Linked DNA regions of Homo sapiens: all the other regions are linked to region 4. Evidence: promoter capture Hi-C in 16 types of primary human blood cells and fetal thymus (Javierre and others, 2016). All regions are on one chromosome and are shown on one strand. The core of a region is centred on a gene start or on the middle of the fragment in contact, and the rest is flanking DNA. Distances in the headings are between cores, read along the strand shown. Region 1 overlaps WLS (Wnt ligand secretion mediator). Region 2 overlaps WLS (Wnt ligand secretion mediator). Region 3 has its middle 100 kb from the start of WLS. Region 4 holds the start of WLS (Wnt ligand secretion mediator).

What was found. The method cuts DNA at HindIII sites, captures the fragments that hold promoters and counts their contacts. A CHiCAGO score of 5 or more calls a contact.
Region 1: a fragment that was not itself captured here is called in contact with the fragment with the promoter of WLS in region 4 in 1 of 17 cell types (endothelial precursors); the score reaches 5.6 in endothelial precursors.
Region 2: a contact is called between a fragment that was not itself captured here and the fragment with the promoter of WLS in region 4, in 1 of 17 cell types (endothelial precursors). The highest score is 5.1, in endothelial precursors.
Region 3: a contact is called between a fragment that was not itself captured here and the fragment with the promoter of WLS in region 4, in 1 of 17 cell types (monocytes). The highest score is 6.6, in monocytes.

The regions. Positions count from the first base shown.
Region 1 is chr1:68,166,669-68,169,461 of GRCh38, forward strand. The region is part of intron 2 of WLS (Wnt ligand secretion mediator); the gene reads right to left. The region is part of intron 9 of GNG12-AS1 (GNG12, DIRAS3 and WLS antisense RNA 1); the gene reads left to right. Among named protein-coding and RNA genes, the nearest start is that of MIR1262, 16 kb to the right of the region's middle. The HindIII fragment of the contact is 868 bases long and covers 1,068-1,935 here.
Region 2 is chr1:68,129,741-68,132,784 of GRCh38, forward strand. All of the region lies in intron 11 of WLS (Wnt ligand secretion mediator), which reads right to left. All of the region lies in intron 8 of GNG12-AS1 (GNG12, DIRAS3 and WLS antisense RNA 1), which reads left to right. Among named protein-coding and RNA genes, the nearest start is that of MIR1262, 52 kb to the right of the region's middle. The HindIII fragment of the contact is 1,525 bases long and covers 720-2,244 here.
Region 3 is chr1:68,334,476-68,337,589 of GRCh38, forward strand. No RefSeq gene overlaps it. Among named protein-coding and RNA genes, the nearest start is that of WLS, 100 kb to the left of the region's middle. The HindIII fragment of the contact is 9,371 bases long and covers 1-3,114 here.
Region 4 is chr1:68,231,206-68,233,905 of GRCh38, forward strand. It overlaps WLS (Wnt ligand secretion mediator), which reads right to left and starts at 1,318. Exons shown (of 12, transcript NM_024911.7): 1 at 989-1,318. The coding sequence starts at 1,094. The HindIII fragment of the contact is 11,043 bases long and covers 1-2,700 here.

The DNA.
Region 1 (2,793 bases), core at 252-2,751, 64 kb before region 4:
GGGAGGCTGCAAGTATGGCTCATAAGAATGTCTGGAATTATCTAATCTAAGCTTTCTAAAGCCATCTATTGTTGGCTGTTAAAATTATAGCATGTTCTGCCGTCTCTTCACGTTACCATCTCCTTACTTCCCGTGCAATCTGAAGCAGAGGTGTTATTCCTGTTTATGAGGTGAAGACGCCATAACTCAGAAAGCCCTACCCTAGAAATACCAGACTCAGGACCCTAGAGCTTCATAGCCAATAGTCTCATAGCATCCTGCCATCTTTTATGATGTACATAAAAAAATAGAAATCACAGGGAGAATGGCCTGTTCAAGTGACCTTTACTAGACTGTGATATCACTCCTCACCCCCAGACAGATAGCACACATGAGGTAGCACAGGTCAATCTTAGCAGACCTGGTTCCTTACCTGTTAGGATAAGACTTAACGCCTAGAATTTCATGATTATTACACTAGTTACTGCATGAAAAATGCTCAAGACAGAGCAGAAAGCATGAAGGGTAAGGTATTGTTGTTGACATTTTATTAGGGAAGTGAAACTCTTATCCTTAATTCAAAATAATTACCAGGTTTCAGGAACATGGAGCTTCCCACTATGAATCCCTAATCCAAACCTAGATCACAAAACCCAGAAACGGGAAAGCACTGGACAGAGGAATACAGTAAAACTGCGAAGCTGGTTACCTGAATTGTTTTCTCTTCTGCCTCCAGTGGACTTGGAAATAAAGTTCAGCATTAATGATGATGTTGCATTTAATAAAACACTGGTTTCATGACTCCTGGGATACTGTGTGGGCAATACTTCCCCTCCACCCTCCAGAGATAATGAAGGCGAGGAATCCAATTTGAACTCCCTGGGAGAATGGCAGGAAGGCTAAGCTACATTTGGCACTATATTAGAACTTTCCCTATAAAACAAGGACACTGGTTATATCAGTTTCATGGGGGTACAGTTGTAAGGTATCAGCATAGGGCATTTATAGATTTGAAATCCATGGTTTTCCATACCTATACTATACCAGCAGCTTTGGTATAGAAGCCCATAGGTCCTATGGGCTAGCCAAGCTTCACATTTCTCAAATAGCTTTGGAGACATATTTTAGTTGGGTGGAGAATTCATTCAGAGGAGGAAGGGAAGTGTGGAAAGGCACTGTCGTTCGTTACACTTACTATTTCCATCCTGTTATGGGGGCAGTTTCCCCTATGCTCCAGGGTTCCATAGGAGCAGACCTAGACTGCAAAGTGTGGTTACAGACAGAAAGATCCATGCCTTTCCATGTTGGGAAGCATCAACTAATTGTATCCTTAGGAAGTCTGTCTCTATACCAGTTATACTGCCCTGCCCTGCTTGAGAAAAGCAAAGCCAATCAGTTTTTCTGCAGGCAAGTGGAAAGTCAGAGAGGAGGGCAAGTACCTTCTATAAGCCAGAAATGGTGGGAGGGGGGTGCTAGAAATCGCTAGGAAAGAGGTCTAGTGTCCCCAAGAAATCTAGGGCAGCTGCTTAATGTAAGAATGGTCCCTGGGGTGGGAATGTGGGGAGAAGGAAAAGCAATGAAAAGGCCACTAGAGCCTTAATTGAGGAAGACATCAGAATGCTTGTCACCTAAGCTCTACACCTTCTATATTTGAAACAGGTATTTCCCAGCCAGGATAGTACAAAGTGTATAAATTGGGCACCAAATGGATGTGATTTTGAATTCTCCTTTTATGACTTCCCACCTGAACAACCTTGAATAAGTCTCAGTTTCCACCTTTGCAGTATGGAAACAGTGGGAACTACTCCCTAAGTCTGTTAACCAATACCAGTTCCTTCTCCATCTAGTCCCAGGGTGGCTGGGTTATATTGTTGACCTATTAACTGGAATAAAAGGGGAAAAAGGAGAGGACAAGATATATTAGAGGAAATCAGGAATGATTTTATGGTTGTCAAAAGCTTTTAGGTTCCTAGAGACACTTTGACTTTCCTGGGCCTTTGCCCTGGGAAAAAAATTAAAGAGGTTTCAATGCTCGTGTGCATTCCCACATTACATAGGGGAGCTGCCAGTCACCAGAGTTTGTTTGGGTAACCTCAGAAAGAGGCCACAGAGACAAATCTCCTCCCAGCCTCTGGCAGACATATAATCTGGAGTTATTTATGCCAGCATTCCTTCCCCAATAAAAAACTCTCTGACCTGGCTTGAATTTTTCTTGACGCTTTCAATTAAGGAAATAACAAAACCAACCCTGTCTTATACATGGTTAGGTCTGGCAAAAATGGACTCAGCTAATTACAAATTTGGCCCTGGCGGTTTTCTTAAGATGCCCTACAGGCCTGGGTGTGAGTGGTTATAAAAATGAATGAGTACAATTATTTTGCAAACCAGCCTAACAGTTTAGTTCACATTGCTTCTCGTCTTTCCTCATCAAATCAAGCATTTGAATTGCAGAGAATTATCTTCCACATGTAAGAAAACATATTTCTAAGCATTGCAAAACTGGTTCCTTGCTGTATTCTGATGCATTATCATCTGGTTGAAGTCACATATCTGTCTATGGAACATGACAAGGACAAGGGAGAACGGTGCTCACATTAGGTTCTCTTCAAAGTGACATGCAGTTAGAAAACATCCACTTACCCCTATTGTAGCCAAGGCTACTAGTACTTAAATGCTATACCACTGAAAAAGTAAGTGGAGACATCAATTTTTTTAAATAAATGAATCTGAAGTACCACCGAATATAGAAAAAAACCATATCTATTGTTCACCAGGTTGGAGAGTAGCTCTTTCCTCATCTAACTCAACACGTTC
Region 2 (3,044 bases), core at 232-2,731, 100 kb before region 4:
CATCTGTTAGTTTCCCCCTCTCTTGGCTCCTGCTGTTCAGTGCACAAACATGCTCAAAAGTCTCTTCCCATCTCAGACAAGAAAAAACCCTTCTGAAAATGTGATATGTGTCTTGGGGTGAAAAAGAGTGAGAAAGAAAAAAGAAAAGAATGCTTTAGTTTGCAGTAAATTTCTCTCCCTGGTTATGATGTCAAATTCATCACAGCTCATTAACAATTAGATGACGGTCTATTTCTTCCTAACCTTGTGAAATGAGACCAATCTCTGGCACAGATTTCATCCCAAAGGACTACGGCAATGCATCCATATGTGTGGAGTCACATCCACAGGTGTGTAAGCGGCTGCTTGGTTGTAACTGCCTGGAATGCCTAATGAGGATGAAGAAAGCCATATGCACTGGAGACAGCTTCTTAGGACCGGCAGCATTTTAATGACAATTGTTTGTGTATCTGTGCCCACTTCAATAAAAATGACAACAGCTACTCTCATTCTGAGGATGTATTACAGATTCCGGGAGAGATCGGAGGTACCACTAGAGGTCTTCTAATATTAATAAGGCCTACGTACTTCCATCCTCACCACTACCAATGCAAATTAACACCCCACTGCCCAAGTGTGAAAGCCAGGGAGCTCCCATACCATGAGTTCATATTTGTTCTCAAGGTCATACACAATGTGTGCCGGAGCCAAGATTCCAAACCATCTGTGTCTACCTCCAAAGCTTATGTTCTTTCCAGAACATTCATGACCTATCCTTTTTTGTAGAATTTTCCCTAGGCCCACACCAACCTCTCTCCTATTCACCTTCAAAGCTAAGTTCAAATGATAACTTTTTGTAACGAAGTCTCTGGTTCACAGCAGAATGAGAAAAACAGAAAAGTGTAGTATTTTAAAGCCAAATTATTTTCATGCAAAGAACTGCTTAAGAATATGTCTGCCTTACATTTTTGGTGTTAATATGATTGTTATGTTAAAGAACAAAATAGTGTCGCTGGTGCAGTGGCTTACATCTGTAATCCCAGCACTTTGGGAGACAGAGGCAGGAGGACCACTTGAGCCCAGGAGCTGGAGACCAGCCTGGGCAACATAGAAAGATCTTAACCAAAAGAAAAAATAATAATAAAATGGTGAATGGTAGGTTTCTTCTTCTTTTTTTTTTTTTTTTTTTTTTTAGATGGAGTCTTGCTCTGTCACCCAGGCTGGAGTGGAGTGGAGCGATCTCAGCACTGCAACCTCCGCCTCCAGGGTTCAAAGAGATTCTCCTGCCTCAGTTTCCTGAGCAGCTGGGACTACAGGCGCATGCCACCATGCCCAGCTAATTTTGTGTGTGTGTGTGTGTGTGTGTGTTTTTAAGTAGAGACAGGGTTTCACCGCATTAGCCAGGATGGTCTCGATCTCCTGACCTTGTGATCCACCTGCCTTGGACTCCCAAAGTGCTGGGATTACAGGCGTGAGCCACCGCACCTGGCCTTTTTTTTTTTTCCAAAGAAAGTAAATACCCAGGACAGTATGTGGTATATAGTAAGTGCTCAAAACACCCATGAAAGATTTGCCTGGTGCAGGCAAGGGCAGTTCCTCTGTACTCTGCATGGCTGGGTCTAGCCTAGCATATCGGCACTGGTGTTCTTCCCCACTGGCATTTAGGAAAACACCCTCAGTTAGAAAACAAGTGTGCCTTGGGATAGCTCAGCTTTGAGGATCCCTTCTGGGAGATGGGGCAGAGTGGCTTTGGTGGACAGGGTTAAGAGCCCTGGGTCCAGTTGTCTCTCGGTGCCTGTCAACCCCAGAGGTCATTTATTCCAGGCTTGGAGCGAGCCATTGCCCATGGACCTCCAAAGCACCTCCTGACACTTACTGCCAGGCAGTAACTGCAAGTGGGAGAAGAACACAATAGAACTTATTAGTTTGGGGGTAAAATCTTGGTGTTACAGGCTGAATTGTATCTCCCCCAAACTCTCAAATTCATATATTGAAGTTCTAACCCCTAGAACCTCAGAATGTGACTGTGTTTAGAGATAGGGCCTTCTTAAAGAAGTAATTAAGTTAACAATGAGGTCAATTGGGGATGGGCCCTACTCCAACAGACTGGTGTCCTTTGAAAGAAAAGGAGATTAGAATATAGATATACACAAAGGGAAGACCACGTGAAGACACAGGGAGAAAGTATCCATCTACAAGCCAGACAGAGAGGTCTCGGAAGAAACCCACGTTGGTGATACCTTAATATCAGACTGTGAGAAAACAAGCTTCTGTTGTTTAGGACACCCTGTCTGTAGTATTCGTATAGCAACTCTAGCAAACATTTAGGAAGCCGAAGGTTCTTCCCAAGAAGGTAACTGAGATGTCCCTATCATGGTGGGGTGACAAGAATTCTAAGACTCAGAAAAAATGATTTTAATTGACTGGGCCAGGAAAGGTCAGGTCACTGGCACAGCAATAGCCCTGGGAGAGGCAGGGGGCAGAAGACACCTGATTACAAACAGCTGAGCAAGGGGTGCCAGGCTGGTGACGGTCCATCAGTTGGTTCCCACCTTCACTGGGGAATGGGAAAACGCTTTTAAGACCTGCTTTAGGGTCTGGGTCCAGCCCGTGTGACAAGACCAATCCCATCAGTGCTCACAGACATCAAGAAGCTCAGCTGGCCATGGGCAGATCATCTAATGTACAATCAGGGAGATGGCGTCAATAAAAGGGGGCAACCAATGTCAGGGCCTCAGGACTTAATCCAACGCTTTACCGAGGCAACAAAGCCAAAGCCATCTTTCCTATGAAACAAGGGGCAGGAGACCTCAGAAACCTCCAGGAGTAAAACTGACATCACACTGTAGCTAGCTGCCAAGACGCGGAACCAGTGTTGCCGCTTTTGCTCCCCGCAGAGTGGGTGCATTAGACAGAAAATGCTTAGCGTGAACAGAAATAGGAGGGAATGGTGGCAGTGAGGGCATCTTGTGTTCCCTCTGCCACAGTCATCTAGTTGGGAATTCTGTGTCTCACTTCTTTTTTTAAAACATTCTGACAAGAATTTTATAATCAAAAGAACACAA
Region 3 (3,114 bases), core at 152-2,651, 100 kb after region 4:
TTCCATGGTGCATATGTATAACATTTTCTTTCTTTTCGTTTTTTTTTTGACAGGTTCTCACTCTGTCACTCAGGTTGGAGTTCAGTGGCATGATCAGAGATCACTTTAACCTCAAACTCCTGGGCTCAAGCAATCCTCCTGCCTGAACCTCCCAAATAGCTACAGGCATGCACCACCACACCTAGCTAATTTTTAAATTTTTTGTGAGGATGGGGTTCTCACTATGTTGCCCAGTTTGAGCCCAGGTCTTGGATTCTGGGCTCAAGCAATCCTCTCACCTCAGCTTCCCAAAGTGCTGGGATTACAGGTGTGAGCCACCATGTCAGGCTGACCACATTTTCTTTATCCAGTCCACTGTTGATGGGCATCTAGGTTGATTCCATGTCTTTGCTATTGTGGATAGTGCTGCAATGAACGTACAAATGCATGTGTCTTTTTTTCTAGAATAATTTATCTTCCTTTGGGTATATACCCAGTAATGGGATTGCTGGGTCAAATGGTAATTCTGTTTTAAGTTCTTTGAGAAATCTCTAGACTGCTATCTACAGTGGCTGAACTAATTTACATTCCCACTAACAACGTGTAAGTGTTCTCTTTTCTTCACAGCCTTACCAGCATCTGTTATTTTTGGTCTTTTTAATAGCCATTCTGACTGGTGTAAGTTGATATCTCATAGCAGTTTTGATTTGCATGTCTCTGATGATTAGTGATGTTGAGCATTTTTTCATATGTTTGTTGGCTGCTTTTATGTCTTCTTTTGAGAAGTGTCTCTTCATGTCCTTTGCCCACTCTTCAATGTGCTTATTCGTTTTTTGCTTATTGAGTTGTTTATGTTCCTTATAGATTCCGGATATTAAAACTGTGTCAGATGCATGGGTTATGAATATTTTCTCCCATTCTATATATTGTCTAATTACCCTGTTGATAGTTTTTCTTGATATGCAGAAACTCTTTAGTTTAATTAGGTCCTACTTGTCAATTTTTGTTTTTGTTGTAATTGCTTTTAAGGACTTAGCCATAGATTTTTTGCCAAAGCCGATGTCGAGAAGGGCAACTCGTATTCTTTCTTCCAGGGTTATTATAGTTTGAGGTCTTGCATTTAAATCTTTAATCCATCTTGAGTTAATTTTTGCATATGGTAAAAGATAGGGGTCCAGTTTCCTCCTTCTGCATATGGCTAGCCAGCTAACCCAGCACCATTTATTGAATAGGGAATCCTTTTGTCTTTTTTTTTTTTTTTTTTTTTTGAGATGGAGTCTCGCTCTTTTGCCCAGGCTGGAGTGCAGTGGCACGATCTCAGCTCACTGCAACCTGCACCTCCTGGATTCAAGCAATTCTCCTGCCTCAGCCTCCTGAGTAGCTGGGATTAAAAGCATACGCCACCATGCCTGGCAAAATTTTGTATTTTGTTTTTAGTAGAGATGGGGTTTCACCATGTTGGCCAGGCTGGTCTTGAACTCCTGACCTTGTGATCCACCCACTTCAGACTCCCAAAGTGCTGGGATTACAGGAGTGAGCCACTGTACCCGGCCGGGAGTCCTTTTCTCATTGTTGGTTTTTGTCAGCTTTGTTGATGGTCAGATGGCTGTAGATGTGAGGCTTAATTTTGGGCTCTCTATTCTGTTCCATTGGTCTATATATCTGCTCTTGTACCAGTACCATGCTATTTTGGTTACTGTAACCTTATAGTAGTTTGAAGTCAGGTAATGTGATACCTCTGGCTTTGTTCTTTTTGCTTCAAAGTTATTTGGTTATTTGTGCTCTTTTTTGATTCCATATCAATTTAAATTTTTTTTCTAAATCTGAAAAAAAAGATGTTGGTAGTTTCGTAAGGATAGCATTGAATCTGTAGATTGCTTTAAGCAGTATAGCTATTTTAACAATATTGATTCTTTCAATCCATGGGCATGGACTGTTTTTCCATTTATTTGTCATCTGTAATTTCTTTCAGCAATGTTTTGTAGCTCTCCTTATAGAGATCTTTTACCTCCTTGGTTAGATGTATTCCTAAATATTTTATTTTTGTGTGTGGCTATTGTAAATGGAATTGTGTTCTTGATTTGGCTCTCAGCTTGAATACTACTGGTGTATAGAAATGTTGCTGATTTGTATTCATTGATTTTGTATCCTGAAACTTTACTGAAGTTATTTATCAGTTCTAGGAGCCTTTTGACAGAGTTTCTTGGGTATTGTAGGTATAGAATCATATCAACAGAAAACAGAGATAATTTGACGTCTTCATTTTTTATTTGAATGCCTTTTACTTTTTTTCTCTTGCCTGATTGCTCTCGTTCAGACTTCCAGTACTATGTTGAATAGGAGTGGTGAAAGTGGGCATCCTTGACTTTTTCCTGTTCTTATGGGAAATGCTTCCAGCTTTTGCTTATCAGGGAAATTTTTAAAATGCTACTTACATTTGTGGGCCAATTGGCTTAATTAAGAAAATGTGAGTTTCAAGTCAAGGCTAAGTGAAAAAAAAAAAAAGAAAGAAAAAGAAAATAGTGCTTAATTTGCCTTCTCTCTCACTCTCTCAGGCTTTTCTGCCTGCCACAAAACTAGTTTAGTAGTGCAATGAGCACCAAACCTGGAGTTAGTCCAGAGTTAAAACCTCAAGTTCTGCCACTTCCTAGTCATGTGACCTTTCAGCTCAGACATTATACTGTTGTTGCTTGTTTTCCATCACCATAAGTTTGATATCGGTCTTTTTCCTGCTTCTTTTCTTTCTTTCTTTCTTTCTTTTTTTTTTTTTTTTTTTTTTGAGACGGAGTCTTCCTCTGTCGCCAGGCTGGAGTGCAGTGGTGCAATCTCTCCTCACTGCAATCTCCGCCTCTCGGGTTCCAGCGATTCTCCTGCCTCAACCTCCTGAGTAGCTGGGATTACAGAAGCCCGCCACCATGCCCAGCTAATTTTTGTATTTTTAGTAGAGACGGGGTTTCACCAAGTTGGCCAGGATGGTCTCGATCTCTTGACCTCGTGATCCACCTGCCTAGGCCTCCCAAAGTGCTGGGATTACAGGCATGAGCCACTGCGCCCGGCCCTGCTTCTTTTCATGCCTACAAACTTTTGATTGAATAGCAGACATTGTTAATGTTATGTTTTGGGGTGTAGATTTTT
Region 4 (2,700 bases), core at 68-2,567:
CCGAGTGGACGGTCCGTGAGGCGGTTTTCTTCACCCGGAAGCCTGTTTGACTCAGAGAGGTCCGGGAGGTGCACGCCAGGGGAGGTCTCCCGGGGCGGGCGCTGTCGCCGAGGAGGCCGGCGAGCTGTCACCTGCGGGGGGCTGTGGTGGGAGCTGAGGGCGCTCTCCTAAGCGCCAAAAGAGGACGGGGACATTCACAGTCACCGGCTCTCGGGGCTCTAAGTAGTGGGGGAAGGGATATTCACGAGTGGGCAGGAGGCCAAAAGCAACACCTTTCGGATACGCTTTTCCCCTCCGACCTCTCCAACTTCCCGCGGCGCTGGTCAAGGACTCCCTCCCACCCCACCCCATCCCACCCAACCTCCCGGCCGACAATTCGGACCTGTCCACGGCAGAGCGTGGGGTGGAGTGCGGCGGGAAAGCAGAGGGCGCGAAGGTCGGGACCCCAAATTGCAAACCCTCAGCCCCTAGCAAAGACGACCAAATGCATTTACAACCGTGCAAGTATCTCAGCCTTGTAACAGAGCTCCGGGTTTGCGCCGGGCACAGTTCCCCGACTCTTCTGTTGTTCCTAATAAAGTCGATTACGTTGCCCTCCCGGAGCTGATTGGAAGGGAACCGAGAGGAAAAGGGGGGGAACGCGGGAAAAAGCGGGGGGGGGGGGGGGCGAGCAATCAACTTTGTAACCCAGCGCTTCCTCGCGCGATCCGTCGCCATGCTTAAGATTCCCACCCCCGCCGCCCCCCTCTTGCCTTTCAAGTGGATACTGAAACTAGGCCAAAACTTTTTCCCCTCCTTTTCTCTTAGCCACTAGACTGGATTGTGCCCCACGGAGCCCCATGGAGCTCTGCTTTCTTAAGCACAATAGCCGGACTAATTAGATCATAGAAGCAAGGCAGTGATACTGTAACAAGTAGCCCAAGAGGCAAAGAGGGAAGGGGCCCGAAAAGACAGAAAGGGGGAAAAGTTTGCAGCTCTCCGCACTTACCAATCAAGCCTCCCACCAGAAAGGCGATGATTTGGAACACGAGCAGAATCCCACCAACAATGCACAGCTTCTTGGTGCTCATGTTTTCTATAATTGCCCCAGCCATTTTTGCGCCCCCCCTTTTTCTTTTCTCCTTGAAATAAATGTTTTAGGGTGAGCTTTTTGCTCCCTCCTCTCACACACTCCCTCCTTCCTCGCCTCCTTTCTGGGCGCTGCAAAACTTCAGAGGTGCTGGAGCGCGGCGAGGATGGGACCGGGACGGAAGGCGCCCGCACGGATTCCCCCGGCGCAGCCGGCTCGGGTTCCCCCAATGCCCGGAGCTGTGATTGTGGCCGCTCCGCCGCCTGTGGACGCTTAAAGGAGCAGGGAAGCGGATCACATGACGCCGCCTCCCTCCCTTTCTTCCTCCCTCCCTCTCGCGCTTCCTCCCTCCCTCCCTCCCTCTCTTCCTCTACCCCTTGCCCACCAGTTCGGGGCTCAGAGCTCTGGCGGGTGCTGGCGCCTGGCTCCCGAGTCTGGCCTGCAACCTGTCTCTCCAAGGTCTGATGCCATTTAGGGGTTGCTGTTGATGTTAAGCGGGTTCCCCCTGCCCAGCTTCTCACAGGTTTCCTTTTCTGGTTTCCGAAGTGCGAGATTTAAATCACCGGTGGACCGCCTTGCAGACCTTTAACTTACGCGTTGACTTTAGGAAATGGTCCCCACCCCACCCCCAACTGCTAGAACTCTCTTTAGGAAAGAGGAGGAGAATTTTTTTTAAAAGGACCCAATAGATGCCTAAGTCAAAACACAGAGATGCGGAATAAAGTCTCAGCTCGACTTCTTTCTACCAGATTCCCAGCCTCGGTTATTGGGCACATACCCAGCTAAATTCCCCACGGCGCCCCTTGAGGAAACTTGCTCTCCAGCCAAATCAGACCACTGTTCGTTACTCCAGCACATGTGCTTCCACAGCCTTAACCCTGGTTATTGCCTTAAAGAGAACATGTTCTACTCCATCAATGTTAAACCTGATCCAAAACCAACTAGTGTTAAAAAATCTTTCTAATTTTCCACACCACCTCCATGCAGTATCTCTGGGAACTGAGCCCCTACAATCCTGTATTTACATTTTTACCTCCTATTGTAAGGATTTGTGTACACGTTTGTCTCCACCACTGAGCTGTAAACTCCTGGGGAATAGGGACCAAGTTTTTTTTGTTCTTTGTACCCCCCATGGTGCCTAACAAAATGCTAGCTCTAGTAGGTGCCCCATAATCTTTTGTGGAATGAATAAGTGAATGTGAAAGCAAGCCCACAGTTTGTATTTCAAAGGTCTAAAGAGATCTTAGTTGGTTTAGAGGGTACCTATATTAAGTTACAATGTTTGTTGTCTCTTTGTGAGAAATCATATATTTATATTTATACTTAACTTCCATAAAAAGAGGGGCGGGGCTCCCGATAGAGATTTCCTGCTCTATCAAGCCTAAATTTCTGGGCCTGGTTTTTCCATGTTTCATAAACTGGCCGCTTGGCCAGTACAACTCACCTTACTCAATAGACCCTTGGTTTGGTAAATACCCCACCCTGCTCCCCAAACGTGCAGTTTCTACCACCACCACCCACACATCTTGTTTCTTGTCCCTCCCATCCTTACACACCCTCTTCATGCCAAGAGACTATTTTTCCCAGTCCTCTCTCCTCCTCTACTCTGTTCCTGAATTTTCATTGCCCTT